Linked DNA regions of Homo sapiens: regions 1, 3, 4 and 5 are each linked to region 2. Evidence: promoter capture Hi-C in human tissues and cell types (Jung and others, 2019). All regions are on one chromosome and are shown on one strand. The core of a region is centred on a gene start or on the middle of the fragment in contact, and the rest is flanking DNA. Distances in the headings are between cores, read along the strand shown. Region 1 has its middle 130 kb from the start of IL15. Region 2 holds the start of INPP4B (inositol polyphosphate-4-phosphatase type II B). Region 3 has its middle 54 kb from the start of LINC02432. Region 4 overlaps RNF150 (ring finger protein 150). Region 5 has its middle 16 kb from the start of LINC02276.

Evidence for each region. The method cuts DNA at HindIII sites, captures the fragments that hold promoters and counts their contacts. A contact is called where the count stands out against the background at its distance.
Region 1: a contact is called between a fragment that was not itself captured here and the fragment with the promoter of INPP4B in region 2, in 1 of the 25 tissues and cell types used here (dorsolateral prefrontal cortex).
Region 3: a contact is called between a fragment that was not itself captured here and the fragment with the promoter of INPP4B in region 2, in 1 of the 25 tissues and cell types used here (dorsolateral prefrontal cortex).
Region 4: a contact is called between a fragment that was not itself captured here and the fragment with the promoter of INPP4B in region 2, in 1 of the 25 tissues and cell types used here (dorsolateral prefrontal cortex).
Region 5: a fragment that was not itself captured here is called in contact with the fragment with the promoter of INPP4B in region 2 in 1 of the 25 tissues and cell types used here (lymphoblastoid cells).

The regions. Positions count from the first base shown.
Region 1 is chr4:141,766,462-141,769,161 of GRCh38, forward strand. No RefSeq gene overlaps it. Among named protein-coding and RNA genes, the nearest start is that of IL15, 130 kb to the left of the region's middle. The HindIII fragment of the contact is 3,555 bases long and covers 1-2,700 here.
Region 2 is chr4:142,844,887-142,847,586 of GRCh38, forward strand. It overlaps INPP4B (inositol polyphosphate-4-phosphatase type II B), which reads right to left and starts at 1,415. Exons shown (of 26, transcript NM_001101669.3): 1 at 1,323-1,415. All of the region lies in intron 3 of USP38-DT (USP38 divergent transcript), which reads right to left. RefSeq lists an enhancer at 2,172-2,700. The HindIII fragment of the contact is 7,687 bases long and covers 1-2,700 here.
Region 3 is chr4:141,385,343-141,388,042 of GRCh38, forward strand. No RefSeq gene overlaps it. Among named protein-coding and RNA genes, the nearest start is that of LINC02432, 54 kb to the left of the region's middle. The HindIII fragment of the contact is 3,171 bases long and covers 1-2,700 here.
Region 4 is chr4:141,079,573-141,082,272 of GRCh38, forward strand. The region is part of intron 1 of RNF150 (ring finger protein 150); the gene reads right to left. Among named protein-coding and RNA genes, the nearest start is that of RNF150, 53 kb to the right of the region's middle. The HindIII fragment of the contact is 4,083 bases long and covers 1-2,700 here.
Region 5 is chr4:141,591,801-141,594,500 of GRCh38, forward strand. No RefSeq gene overlaps it. Among named protein-coding and RNA genes, the nearest start is that of LINC02276, 16 kb to the left of the region's middle. The HindIII fragment of the contact is 8,627 bases long and covers 1-2,700 here.

The sequences.
Region 1 (2,700 bases), core at 67-2,566, 1.1 Mb before region 2:
TTTCACAGTATGTAAATTATATTCAACAAAAATATGTTTTAAAGTTTTCTAGTTTTATTTTTTATCAAATAGTCATGACCTGACATGTTTCCTCCTCCATGGCATTAACTTAATGTAGCCAGATTTCAGTTATCTTTGAAAGAATTTTTAAAGAATCTCTTTTTTCCACCAAAGACTTGGGAGATTTAAATAATTCATGTTTTCAGATATGATCCCTAAATTTAAATTGAACTAAACAAACTCAGTGAATGCAATTCATTCACTAGCAGGTGTAAAGCAGTAAAGCAGCTGTTTAGCAGGAAAGTGTCTGAACATTACAAGAAGCCTGACTAACAGATTCATTATCACAGCGGAGCATGATTTTACAGTACTGTAAATGTGTCAAACTGGTTAAGCCACGGGACTTAAACCCTGTTTTGTTATGGTGCCTTAAACAATGAGAATATTCCAAAATATTTAGTCAATATATAATTATTATGAACTCACAGAGACATAACCCTACTCAGAGGTGCTTTCCAAACACCCTAGAATATTGAGACTAATTTGTTAACAAACATATTCTATGTCTTTTATATAAATGAGCATTGAACTTGGAAGTTCTTAGAACTAGGCTTTTACTTAAGTGATATGCTTTTTGCATAAAACCTTCCAAGCTAATTTTAAACTTTAAATGAAAGAATAATTATTACAGGTGTTTAAAATATTGGTTGAATTTTTATTCAAAAATACTTCCAAATTACATTATTTTTAAAATTTACCCTCAAAAGTTGATGATTTACTACCATTGAGAAATTTAAGAATTCTATTTGTAAGCCCTTATATTTTTCAAACAACTGCACCTTTAATTTAGTTGAAAAATATTAAAGGAGAACTTTCAAAGTAACTAACACTATGATGGGTGCAGGAAGATAATGTGAAAAATATGCAACTCCTGCTCACTCTCATAGATTTCTTTCTGACTATAGGCCCCCCCGAGCTTTCTTTTCTTATAGCATTTACTTTAGAAAACTATTAATGACAAATTCTTTCTCTGCCACTTTGGAATGAATGTAAATCTCCTTAAAAAGCCTACTGCCAGGTTTACAACCCAGGGCATGTATTCCTTAAGGACCTTGGAGTCATCTCTTTGAAGTGTAATCATCCAAAAAGATAGCACCCCTTTCTCTCAGCCTCCATGGTGAGGTAGAAACTTAACTTCAGTGGCTCCTTGCTCCAAGTTGTAAAACTACCACCTGTCCTGAAGACAGGAGAAAGCTTACTTTCTCTTTTGGTTAGGCCAATTAGCAAACACAGATGACATACAAGTCCCCCCACTCCAGCTCCTAAAAACTTTCTGGGCTTTTGTTTCCGTGGATTTGAGTTTAGTCTCTTTTCCCTCTTGCAATTGTCTTGAATAAATGATAGTCTGATTAGTCTTACACAGCCTTCAGTAAATAGAATTTATTAAAGTAAAAAGTGTATTTTGCTTTGTCCAGTGCAATTTTTTACATTGACAACCTTTTGGACAATGGTTTTATAGGTAAGAGGGAGGGGCACTGGGTACAGATGATTAATTATGAATCTATTGCTATAATGCAGGCAGAGCTATTGGGAATAAATTAAGAACTTAGTGCAGGAAGAGGCAGAACTAAGAAATACCAAGGGGGTAGAATCTATGGGACTTGGTGACCATGGATTTTTAAAGATAAGAATGTAAAGTGTTATTTAGGTTTTTGGCAAGGATCAAGTCTTTTGACTGGATGAATTGTGGTAAAACTCCTGATAAAGTGAACAAAAAATTATTGAATGGGCCGGGCGTGGTGGCTCACGCCTGTAATCCCAGCACTTTGGGAGGCTGAGGCGGGCGGATCACGAGGTCAGGAGATCGAGACCATCCTGGCTAACACAGTGAAACCCCGTCTCTAATAAAAATACAAAAAAAAAAAAAAAAAATTAGCCGGGTGTGGTGGCGGGCTCCTGTAGTCCCAGCTACTCGGGAGGCTGAAGCAAGAGAATGGCGTGAACCCGGGAGGCGGAGCATGAGAGTGTGCAGAGATCGCGCCACTGCATTCCAGCCTGGATGACAGAGTGAGACTCCGTCTCAAAAATAAAAAAAAAAAAAGAAAATAATAAAAAAAAAGAAAATTATTGACTGAAACAGAGGTAAGTATATTTTTCTTATTCCAACTTTCTGGGTTGATGTTTGAAGATCCCTACAAGCTATATACCTCAAGCAAGGTTCTTCTACATGTATTGAAGGTGTAGTTTGTAGAGAAAAGAATGTGGTAGTAAGTAATGTCGGCAGACCTCATCTTGAGATAAATGGAAGTCCTCTCACATAGTTCTTTCTTTCAGTGCCCACCACGAATTCTTGTAAATATACTACTGGTTCCTGAGGAGTATTAGGGGATAAGCACCTTGCACATGACCTCCATATTGATCAAGGCAATCTCAACACTTTTATTATTTGATTAAACTTAATTCTGGAACAAAGAGTCCATTTTAGAGATATTGGCAAATAACAGCATTGATCAAATTCGTGTTTTCTGCATTTTTCAACCAGAACATAAAGCTCTCTTGTCTCCAGGGCCATTCTCTTTATTTCATCAACAGACGGTGTCACAGTCAATTTCTGTGCTCTTGTACTGGCATATAAAATCTAAAGCAGCTATCCAAGGGTGCATTAAATATAAAATGGCTGAGTCATTCTGTCTTACACGG
Region 2 (2,700 bases), core at 165-2,664:
AGATGAATTTATCCTCTGTCTTTAGGCTTTTACTTACAGAGCCACACCTTTATAAACAAGTTCTGTCTGTCATACTGACAGGAAGGAGATATGCAAAATGTAACATCTGGAGTCATAAAATATAATGACCTCAAATAACATTCCAGAAAGAGAAAGGAAAACTAGTTCTGGTTAGGGAGAAGATAAAAGAGGAAAAGGAGTAAATTTACATCCTTAAAACAAGAGTAATAGAAAACCCTACCGGGTTTTTCCAGTAAGTTTTGTGCAGCAGCAGCAACAACCTAATCAATATGTGCTTCCTCACCCTCTTGTCCCCAAAGAGAAACTGCTGGGCCCCTCTCCACCGACTCCCCAGGAGCAGAAACTACTGCCCCCAAGGAAGGGAGAATTCAGAAGCGTGGGGAGGGGGAAAAACAGGTATATGTGGTTCTAGCATCCTCATCTTCATATCAGCTACCAGCCTGAAACTACATTCAGGAACCAGGCTCCCAGACATTCCCCGGCCCTGGGCCCTGCCTGAGCGCCAGAGAGCTTGAGGAGCCTGCAGCATAGTTCTCAGACCCGAAACAATGACCTCCCCCGTCCAAACCCAGGCACTCTTGCGCCAAGGCCCTAACCTCTCAGCGAGACCTCTTTGGGGAAGGACAAGAGATGCTGCCTGATGGCCGAGAGAAGACATGCCAGGCTTCTCTGCCAGAATGAGTTGTTGAGGGTGGGATGAAGGTGGTCAAGGAGATGGGCTCTTTATTTTTAAAACAAAAAACAAGGCAACCGGGACCACCAACATCAGTCACCCTCACTCCCCACCACTGCCTCTATTCCTTAAGGACTTCTTCCCAGGCCGGCGGCGGCGGCGGCGGCGGCGGCGGCAGCTTGCGATCATCAGGATTGGAAGTGAGAGCGAGTGCCCGGGCCAACCTCAGCGTCTCTCAGGGACAGCGCAGGTGGGCGCAGCCTTGGAAGGTCAGCGAGGCCAGAGCTCAGAGTTCCACGGGGGCCCGGAGAGTGTGCGTGTGTGAGTGAGAATGCGAAAACGCGCGCGCGCCGGGCAGAGGGGCGCTCGGCGAGAGGGTAGGCGCGGTGACAGGGGTACCCCAGCAGCCGAGGAGAGACAGCCCACCCCACCCTTTAAGCTAAAGAGCTGGAGGGGTGATGGAGGCTGCAAGACGGAGAAACTTGATGCAAAACAGACAGGCTCCCCCCTCCAAGACGTGCCGCCACGCTCTCAGACACGCTCCCTCGCCTCCCGGATTACCCACCATCAACCACCCCACCCTGCAAAATTCCCCCACCGAGCCCTAGGATCCCAGGCGGGTAATTACCTCTCCCGGAGGCGGAGTGGGGGGCGGCAGCAGCAGCAGACACTTTTAGCCTGACTTTCCTGCGTTCGCTTGCGAGCGTGTGAGCGTGTGCGCGCCCAGGAGGAGCTGTAACCTGCTATTTATAGACCGAAGCCTCAGTACCCGGGGCTGAGAACCCGGAGGAAACTAGCAGGCGGCGGCGACGGCGCAGGGCGCCGGCCGCGGCTTCGCGAGGCTCCAGCAGCTCCCCCAGCCTCTGGCTTCGGCCGCGCTCCCTGCTCGCTCCTCGCCTACCAGCCCCGCGCGCGCCCCAGAGAAGTTGTCACCAGCGCGGCTGGCTCTCCGGCTGCTCACACGCCCCCTGGCACAATTGCTACTTTCTTCCACCCCAACCCCCACCCTCCCCGCTCCTCTTCCTCCTCCTCTGCTCTCTCCAAGCGGTCTCCTCCCAATGTCACCAGCGACCGAGTAGAGGCGGCCGTGGCAGCGACAGTCGCGCAACTGGCGCTGCTCGCTTCCCGCTACTGATAGAGCGGAGATGGTGGCCCGGCTGCCCACCCCGAAATTACCACGCTGGCTCCGTGTGCTCACACCCCGTACCCCGACCCCTTTCTGCGGCCCCTCTGCCCGCTGGGTCGCCCACCCAGACTGGGCTGTGGGATCACCGCTACCGCGACGAGGGGGGACCCGAGGCCGCCACGCTGCTGCGGGGGCAGGAGAAACCACAGAGAAAGAACCCGCGGGAGGAAGAAAGCGCCCCAGACCCCGGCCTATGGCAGCGCAGTCCCTAGACCGAGGGTTTTTGGAAGGGGCTTGGGATCCCTGCTGTCACTGCCTGCGTCTAGGCATCCATTCACGCCTGCTGGACCCCAGTCTGCAGCCGCGCTGGGACCCCTGTCTCTTGCCCCTCCTCCCCCTTGCCCCGGGCAGAGGTCGGGCTGAGGAGACCAGCTTAGAGCAGCCCTCGGCCACCCACCGCCAGTTCCCACGTCGCGGCGGGTGACTGAGGCCGAGATGCTCCCAACTAGCGTATGACATGCCTTTGATATCCCGGGTGCGTGGGGACAAATCCGCCCTGAATGTGTTGGGGTATCAGGAAAACGGGGTATGTAAGCAAGCAGTCTGGACGGAGACTAAAACTCCCCCACTTCCTAGCCCCTAACAAGCCCACAGGGGAAAGCACGCACCCTGGTTATTCCGGGCTGTGTAGGGTGTGGGGCAAATGACTCTCCCCATCTGCGCTTTACAGGTGCCACCTGGCGGCTCTCTCGGAAAGGTTTTGATGGAGCCGTTCAAAGGTAAAGGTGCCCAGAGCCAGCCCATCAAGACACCCCAGCCCTTCTCCCTGAGGGCGCTTTAAAATCACATTTTAAGTAAAGCAGTGTACGAATGCTTGTAC
Region 3 (2,700 bases), core at 143-2,642, 1.5 Mb before region 2:
CTGTTTAACTGATCCAGTTTATAGTACTTTATTGCGAGGGTCCTAGCAAACACCTGTTTCCTGCTAGGTTAACTTTTAGTTAAAAAGGCCTGCTTAAGCTATATTTTAAAGATGGAAACAGAAAAATAATGACTGAAAATTTTAAGTTGCTTTATTATTATTATTATTTATAAAACTGCTTCCTGTATCTTTTAAGTTATTGTGTTAGGAAGTGTTTTCTCTCAACAAAATCTTCATCTTTCTCAGCTTCCATTTTTACCACTCTGTCTCTGCTTCCAAGGATGTTACTTTAACATCTACTACTTAGGCTTGATACGTAAGTTTCCACCTTTTCGGCCAGTATCCTTTGCTCTGGTTAAGAACTGTTTTTAGCATGCCAGTTTTTGTCTTTCTCATCTATTCTTTGACAATTTCTTCTGAGCTACTGCGTGGCATGTGTTTGACTGCTTTTCACTTCCAGCCATCAACCCATCTACTTGCTCTCATTTGTCATTTGTTTCAAATGTTTTTTAAATCTGTGTGTCCAAAGATTGATTTTCCAGAAAGCCTAATTTAAAATATGTCACCCAGCCTGCCACTTATATTTCATAAAAAATATTATTCTATTATCCTGATATTTCTTTTCCTTCTGGATATATAATTCTTAGCTGTTAGTTTTAAAGCCACTTTTAATTCTTTTTATTATATAAAAGCACAGAAAAGTATAAAAGAATAGACATGAAACATTAGATGTACTTTCTGCCTTGGGGGAAAATATCTCTGGGAATTTAATGATTTAAGTTATTTGTTGAATCATAACTTCTTAGTATCTAAACTAATTTTAAGGCCAGCTCTGTTAATATTATAACTTTTGCAAATCTTCTGTTTAGGGATGCGTTTTAAAAACTGGGACAACCAGGTTAATAACATGGCTACTGTCATACAAAGTATACGCAATGCAAGTGAAATTTTGGCAAGAAGAGAAAGTAGCAGGTGGTTTCACGTTCATGGTCTCAACTAGCAAACCATACGTCTTTCAGGTATAGACACTGCCATTCTGGGCAATTTGGCTAAGCTTCCTAGGCCTCAGTTTCTTCAGCCCTAATTGTATAAAATCTTTCCATTTCAACACCTACCACTGACTTTATCAGGGATGAAGTGCTAATGTGGCCTTCAGTGCTAGCTCCGACTGGTTGACAGTGGCTGCCCAGGTACTCACTCTTTTTCTTTTTTTTTGAGACGGAGTCTCGCTCTGTCGCCCGGGCTGGAGTGCAGTGACGAGATCTCGGCTCACTGCAAGCTCCGCCTCCCGAGTTCACACCATTCTCTTGCCTCAGCCTCCCAAGTAGATGGGACGACAGCATGGGGTGCCCACCACCACGCCCGGCTAATTTTTTTTTTTTTTTTTTTGTATTTTTAGTAGAGACAGGGTTTCACCGTGTTAGCCAGGATGGTCTCTATCTCCTGACCTCGTGATCCGCCCGCCTCGGCCCCCCAAAGTGCTGGGATTACAGGCGTGAGCCACCGCGCCCTTCCCCAGATACTCACTCTTGGAGGTGAATCAGGAAACTAAGTAGGCATTCAGTGCAAAGGAGTCCTGCCATTAATTATTCTTATCTGTGATCGTTTTGGAAAAGAGAGTGGTGGCAGACATCTGTGTATTTTTGGACTCTGGATGGGAAACTTTATGCTAATATCTAAAATTAGTTAAAATTTTAACTATTCTGAAATTAGTTAAAATTCTCATGGAATTTCTTTCTCTCTCTTTCTTTTTTTTTCGAGGTTTCACCATGTTGCCCAGGCTGGATCTGGAACTCCTAGGCTCAAATGATCTGCCTGCCTCTGCCTCTCAAAATGCTGGAATTACAGGTGTGAGCTAATGCGCTCAGCCTTAGATTAAGATATCCGGGATTACTTCATTCTGGTCTTAGTGCAATTAGTAGAATTTGCCTCCAGTTCTGGCATTTTGAATAAACACAGTTTAACAAAACCCATTTTTTAATCCCTCCCAACTATCTGTCTTCCTTGCTGTTGTTTATTAGCTTTGTTATTTGAGGTCATCGTTTTTGTATCTAGCCTCTTAACAATTCCTCAGTGGTCACTGCCACTGCCTCATAGTTCCAAGTTGATCTGGAAAAATGATAGACCCTACGCATGCATAATTCCTGCACTACATCTTCTGTAAAGGATATGAGTAGTAACAGGTCTCTGATTTGGCACTGGTTCTTTCCCAATGTTCCAAGAAAGACATTGTATCTGCTGTTTTATATTTGGTGGTTAAAATTCTTTATAAACATCTTTTAATCTTATTATTTCATGAAAGACCTAGACCAAATGAATCATGAACCAATGCTCATAATGTTCAGATTGATGTTTGTAGTTTGTTATATAAGACAAACAAATATTTTGCTTTCACTTGAGGGTTATAGAAGTTTGTAACTAATAAGCAATTAACCATAAACTTTGATGTCTTTTCTGTATTGAAGCAAACTTTCTTATGAGAATATGGGTTTAGTGATGGAGTAAGTCACTGTATAATGTATACTTATGAGATAATTATACATACATATTTCCTTAGATTGTGAATTCCTTTTAGGGCATGGGCCACTCATATTCATCCTTGTGCCTAACACAAATTTGGCCTTCATTAAACAGACAATTAATTGAAGGCCTCAATGAAAAATGATTTAAGAATTTATATTTTTAATTCCTTTTAAGTTC
Region 4 (2,700 bases), core at 81-2,580, 1.8 Mb before region 2:
GAGTACTGTAAAACTGTGAGCAGCTGCTGTTGCTTTATTAAGCCAACACTGGCTGAGCACTACAGACAGCAATGGAAGAATGATTTGGAGGGAGGTCAGACAGACCTGACTTTAAATCCTACCACTTATTTACTTCATGAAGTTTCCTCATCTGAAAAATGGGGCTAGTAACACCTCCTAGCAGAACTGTTATAGACAGATTTCATGTCTGGCATTTATGTCCTAACACTGTGTGGTAGCAGGCCGAACTCCAGGCCCTGGAGCCAGAACGTCTGTGGGACTTGGGGCAAATTGCTAACCCTCCTGAGGTTCAGTTCTCTTATAAGTAAATGGCAGTAAAAGCAGTAAGGAGTTCACAGCATTGCTACGATGACCATGTGAAATAAAGCACAGAAAGCATAGTCAGGACTCCATAAACGTTGTTTAAAATTGTAAGACAGGCACTATTCTCCAAGAGCCAGTGTGCATTACACTGAAAAGTGGAAAAAAAAAATCCTAATTCAAAAAAGACATACTTAGTATTTGAACAAACAAAAAAGTAAAAAGTACTTGCTCTTGAAAGAAAACCTCTTCCTAGGGAAGCCAGAGTAGTCAGCTGTGACAGGAAGATTTACCTGCAGCTGCAAAATCAATCTCTCCATAATCATTCACAAAATCCCACTGCCTCTTCTTTTTGTAATCTCTGAAATTCATCTATTCTCCTTTTCCTACACTAATTTCTCATCCAGTCTATTACTATTTTGTTTGTATTTTTTACAATGACAAATACGAAACAAAACCTCTGGTTCATCATCCAATTTGCAATCACCTGTCTGCATTCTAGTCACTGTGTCTTCCTCACCCAATCTAATACTGGCTGCTATAATCAGTTTAAATTTTCTCTCGTCATTGTCAAGATACAGTGATGTGAGTGCTTAAAACATGTCTTCTAATTTCTTAATTAGTTTCATTTCATATTCCTTATTTTTCTCAAATATATCCCCTTTCAACAACGTCTCCTAGAAGAAGTCCATTCCTGTGAAAAATCAACTGCTTAGCTGAAGTTGCATGTTTTTTGTTCTTTTCTGTCTCTAAACAAGCCTATGAGGATATTAATTAGATTTGTGTGAGAAAGGGCAAGGGGAAAATGTGTCAGCTGTCACCATCTAAGCTTAGCTCTATGGAGCTTTAGAATCAGTCCTCAAGACAGAATGACAGTAATTGGAGATATTAGGATTCTGGAGCTGCACATGTCCCCCAGGGAAGGCACCAGTAGAGGCAAAGGTACAGTGAGGCTGAGGCAGGAAATCAGTAGGAATTCCAGAAGCAGGGGGCTACCACAAGGAAGGAACAGCCGGTGGGCCGAATGTGAGAAGTCTGATCGCCAAACGAGACCTGCAGGTACGGCTCTGGGTGGAGTGACCTGTTTACCGGATCACATGTCCAATGCGGTTGTCACCATTGCAGAGCAGCACGACTTCTAAAATGTTACTTTTGGATAAGTGGCCAGTATGGATGGACAGTCACTGTCAGATGCAAGCATCCATTACTGCCATAATATCAGTACTGCTCAAATTTCTGAAAAGAAGTCCAGGGCTAAGGACATGTCTGCATTGGGACAATTTTATTTTACAAAAAACCCTATCAGTCATTGAAATAAATGGCCTTTAGATGTTAGTTGAACTGTTACTTTAAGCTAGGTAAATTTTCTGTTTCCCATGCCTTCTCAGTGCTCCATCTTAACTTCATCTGCCAAGCAACTCACTCTAAGCAAAGAAAACACAGAAGAGAGCTTCTTATGCTACTGATAGAGAGCAGGAAATAAATGAGGCAAAAAGAAACTCATACTCTCCAAAATGGAAGAACCTAAAGACCAGTGCTTCCATCGGACAGGGGCAAGAAAACAGCACTGCAAACCAAATCTCAGCATGGGTGGGATTTCATGTGTTTCATGTTTGGCAGCTTTACATTTACAAAATTTCCCTATTAAAACAGTTGCATTTTTATCTTCCAAAAATTATTGGTGAAAAACCCTGAATACTGGTTAAAGGAATATAAAAATATAGGCAAAGACAAAATAGAGGTCTGTGAGGTCCACAATATTTTAGAACAGAGAAATAATAATTGAACTATTCTTTAATGTGTGTATGTAAGTACGCGTGTGTGTACCTACTTAGAGAATTAACTGATAGATTTTTAAGTTATTCCTTTAGAGATAGACACTTTTCATGTATGTTTAAAGAACAACTTACTCTGATTCCTTCAACAGTGCCTGCACACACCCTCATTCAATATCAACGGAATAGAAAAGGTTTGCTGTTTTGTTTATACCCTGTGGAGAATTCAGTTTAATTTTCAAAACCGTAAACTGTTCCACTTATGCCCTAGGGCTCTCAGAACTTTATGGTCACTCTGCATTCAATACTGTTTCACTGTCAAAGTATAATTACGTGTTTGTATCAAAGAAAGCAAACGCAGTCGGCTTCCCAAAAGCTTGCTTCAGTTTGGCCATTTACGTTAATTGCACAGTCACAACACATGGGCAAGAGGCACCACTGCAGTGCAATAATTTGAGCTCTGAGTTTCTCTGCTGTTCTGAACTCTTCAGAGAAAAGGGACTAAAATAATCCAAAGTAGTTATACATATTATTGGCCAAATTCCCTGAAGGCTTATTCTTCTTTGGAAAAAAGCCTAAAGGCAACATACATAATAACTGAGGG
Region 5 (2,700 bases), core at 192-2,691, 1.3 Mb before region 2:
ATTAAAGATAAATTCTAAAGGCTTCAAGAACAGACTAACCATACTGCATATTCAGATTTGCATCAAATTGTTCCGGCAATACTAGTAGTAGAAAGATAATGGAATAATATGTTAAAGATATTAAATAAAAATAATTGTATATTTAGAATTTTATACCTAGCCAAACTGTCATTTAAATTTGAGAACATAATAGTCTTAAAGTAGGTAATTTTAAGATGGCCCCAAGATCTCGGGCCCCTTACATACACACCTGCCATAATTTCCCAGAGTATAAATATTTTACTGCTATGATGAGTTATGTCAGGTGGTATACTTGACTTTAAGAAAGGAATGTTATCCAACTGGCTTAGTCTAATCACAAGAGCCCCTTAAATCTGAGTACAGAGGACAGAGAAAAGGGGAGTCAGAACTTTGAAATAGAGACATACTCCTGCTGGCATGGAAGAAGCCACCAACAAGTTGTAGAGAGGGTCACATGGTGCAGGGAGTGGCAAACAGCCTCTAGGAGCTAGGAATGGCCCCCTGGTCAACAGCCAGCAAGAAAAAGGAGATCTCAGTCCTGTAATCACCAGGAACTACATTCTTCCCACAACCAAAATGAGTTTGGAACTGGATTTTCCCTGGAACTTCCAGACAAGAACTAAGCCAAGCCAACATCTTATCTCTAGCCACCTGAGCCACTAAATGGAGGACTCAGGCATCTAAGCAGAACTCCTAACCTACTGAAATGGTGAGATAATAAATTCATGTTGTTTTAAGCTGCTAAATTTATGGCAAACTTCTGCATAGCAATAAAAACTAATGCAGAAGTATTCATGCATAAGTACTATATTAAAACCAACTGGAGTTTTCAAATAGAAAGAAAATACTAGGCAATACTTTAAGATGAGAACAAATCAAGAACAGAAAATGATACTATTATTTCACTAACAAACATGTTTGAAGAGCTCCTAAATAAAAGATTAACTAGTTAATTCCCATTATATATTCCCAATTTTCCTAAGATTATAATCCTAATTATATGTATATAATTATAATTAATTATAGTTCCTTTTGAGGCATAACAAGTTACCCAAATTATTGGTGTGAAAAAAACCCAAGTGTTTTGCTTTTCTCAGGCTTTATGGATAGGGATTATGGGAAGAACTGAGCAGAGTTCTCACTCAGTCTCATTTGGTTGCAGTTAGATGTTGGCTGAGACTGTAATCTTCTACCTTTGCCTGATAGTTAAATGCTGAATTTGAGTGTGGCATGTATTAAGAATTGGCAGAATTTAAAACGTCTCCTGTGGTCTGACCAAAATGTCTTTAAAGATTATTGTCTTATTTGGGACACAAGAATCTTATCTACCAGTCAAAGCTGAGACATGATTTTATTGTTCTAGCTACTGTCTGCCTTTCTCCCAGAAACAATGACCGTTATTGCTCCTGTAATAGGTTGGAAGCCCCAGAGCAACACAATCAAAAATCGAATCTGATATGGAAATTTCGCACATATTTGTATTACTATGAGTTACACTACTATATGCCAAGTGCTGTGCACAGTCTTAGTTATAAAAATCAATAAGATAATATTTCTGCCCAAGTGGAGTTCCTAATCTCATAGCAGAGAAAAAATATATAAAGAGCTAACCACAATTACACACAACTAATCCTATAATAATGGTAAAAACAAAGCAATGTGGGAGCACAGAGAAAGCTCAACTAAAAGTACCCAGAAAACAGGTGTGCCTTAGTACTATATTTCCATTGTATTTATACATTGAAATTGGACTATATCAATGGCAAAAGATAATATAATTTAGAGAACATGTTGTATATCCTAACCAGGGAGCAGAAAATGTCAACATCTTTTATATTAAAGGAAAATTGTTTCTTGCAATTTCAGTGTATTTGACCATGAGGAAAACAAATCAGTTTTTGCTCTTTCTTGTTTATCATTTCTTTTCTTGTTTATTACTCTTATTTATTATAGTTTAGCTTTGTTTGTTTAAAGATGATTTTCTGAAATTCAGTTTTCCTAAGATTATTTATTGAGGCATGCAGTTTTGTCTTCAAAAATTAAATTTTTCTCTTTTTAAAATCTAATATTAACCTTGACCATTATTTGTAATTACCTACGATTTGTGCAACATTAGTGAAATGCTGTGGGACATTTCTGGATGAAAAACATCAAAGATTTTGCCCTACAAGTCTTAAATTCTGGTAGGAGAGACGGCAGCATGAAAATAGTATGATATCAGATAAAATAAAATAAATGCCATCAAAATGTTATGGAAAACAAAGTAAATGTTTCACGAGTTTTGATCGTCATGATTATTGTTTTTGGTTGCTCCCTGTATCCTCAATGACATAATGCATCTTCAGTTTATATTTTTAATATTTTTATAATTTCATCCTTTTTAAGAGTTATAACTTAAAAAGTGGCTCCAGGTGAGAACACTAAGGTCAGAGAAGTCCATTGTCATATGGTTCAACGGCAAGATTCTGACACAGTGTTTCACAATGTTTATTAGCTAGACCAGGTACTGCAAAATTCATGGGCTGTGGTTAAATTTGGCTCACAGATATGTCTTAATATTGTGATCATTTTTAGCTATTTAAGTATTTCAAAATAGTTTCTAGCAGAGCATGCCTTCTTAAATATATATATAAAATATACGTATTATATATGTGTACACACACACAGACACACATATAT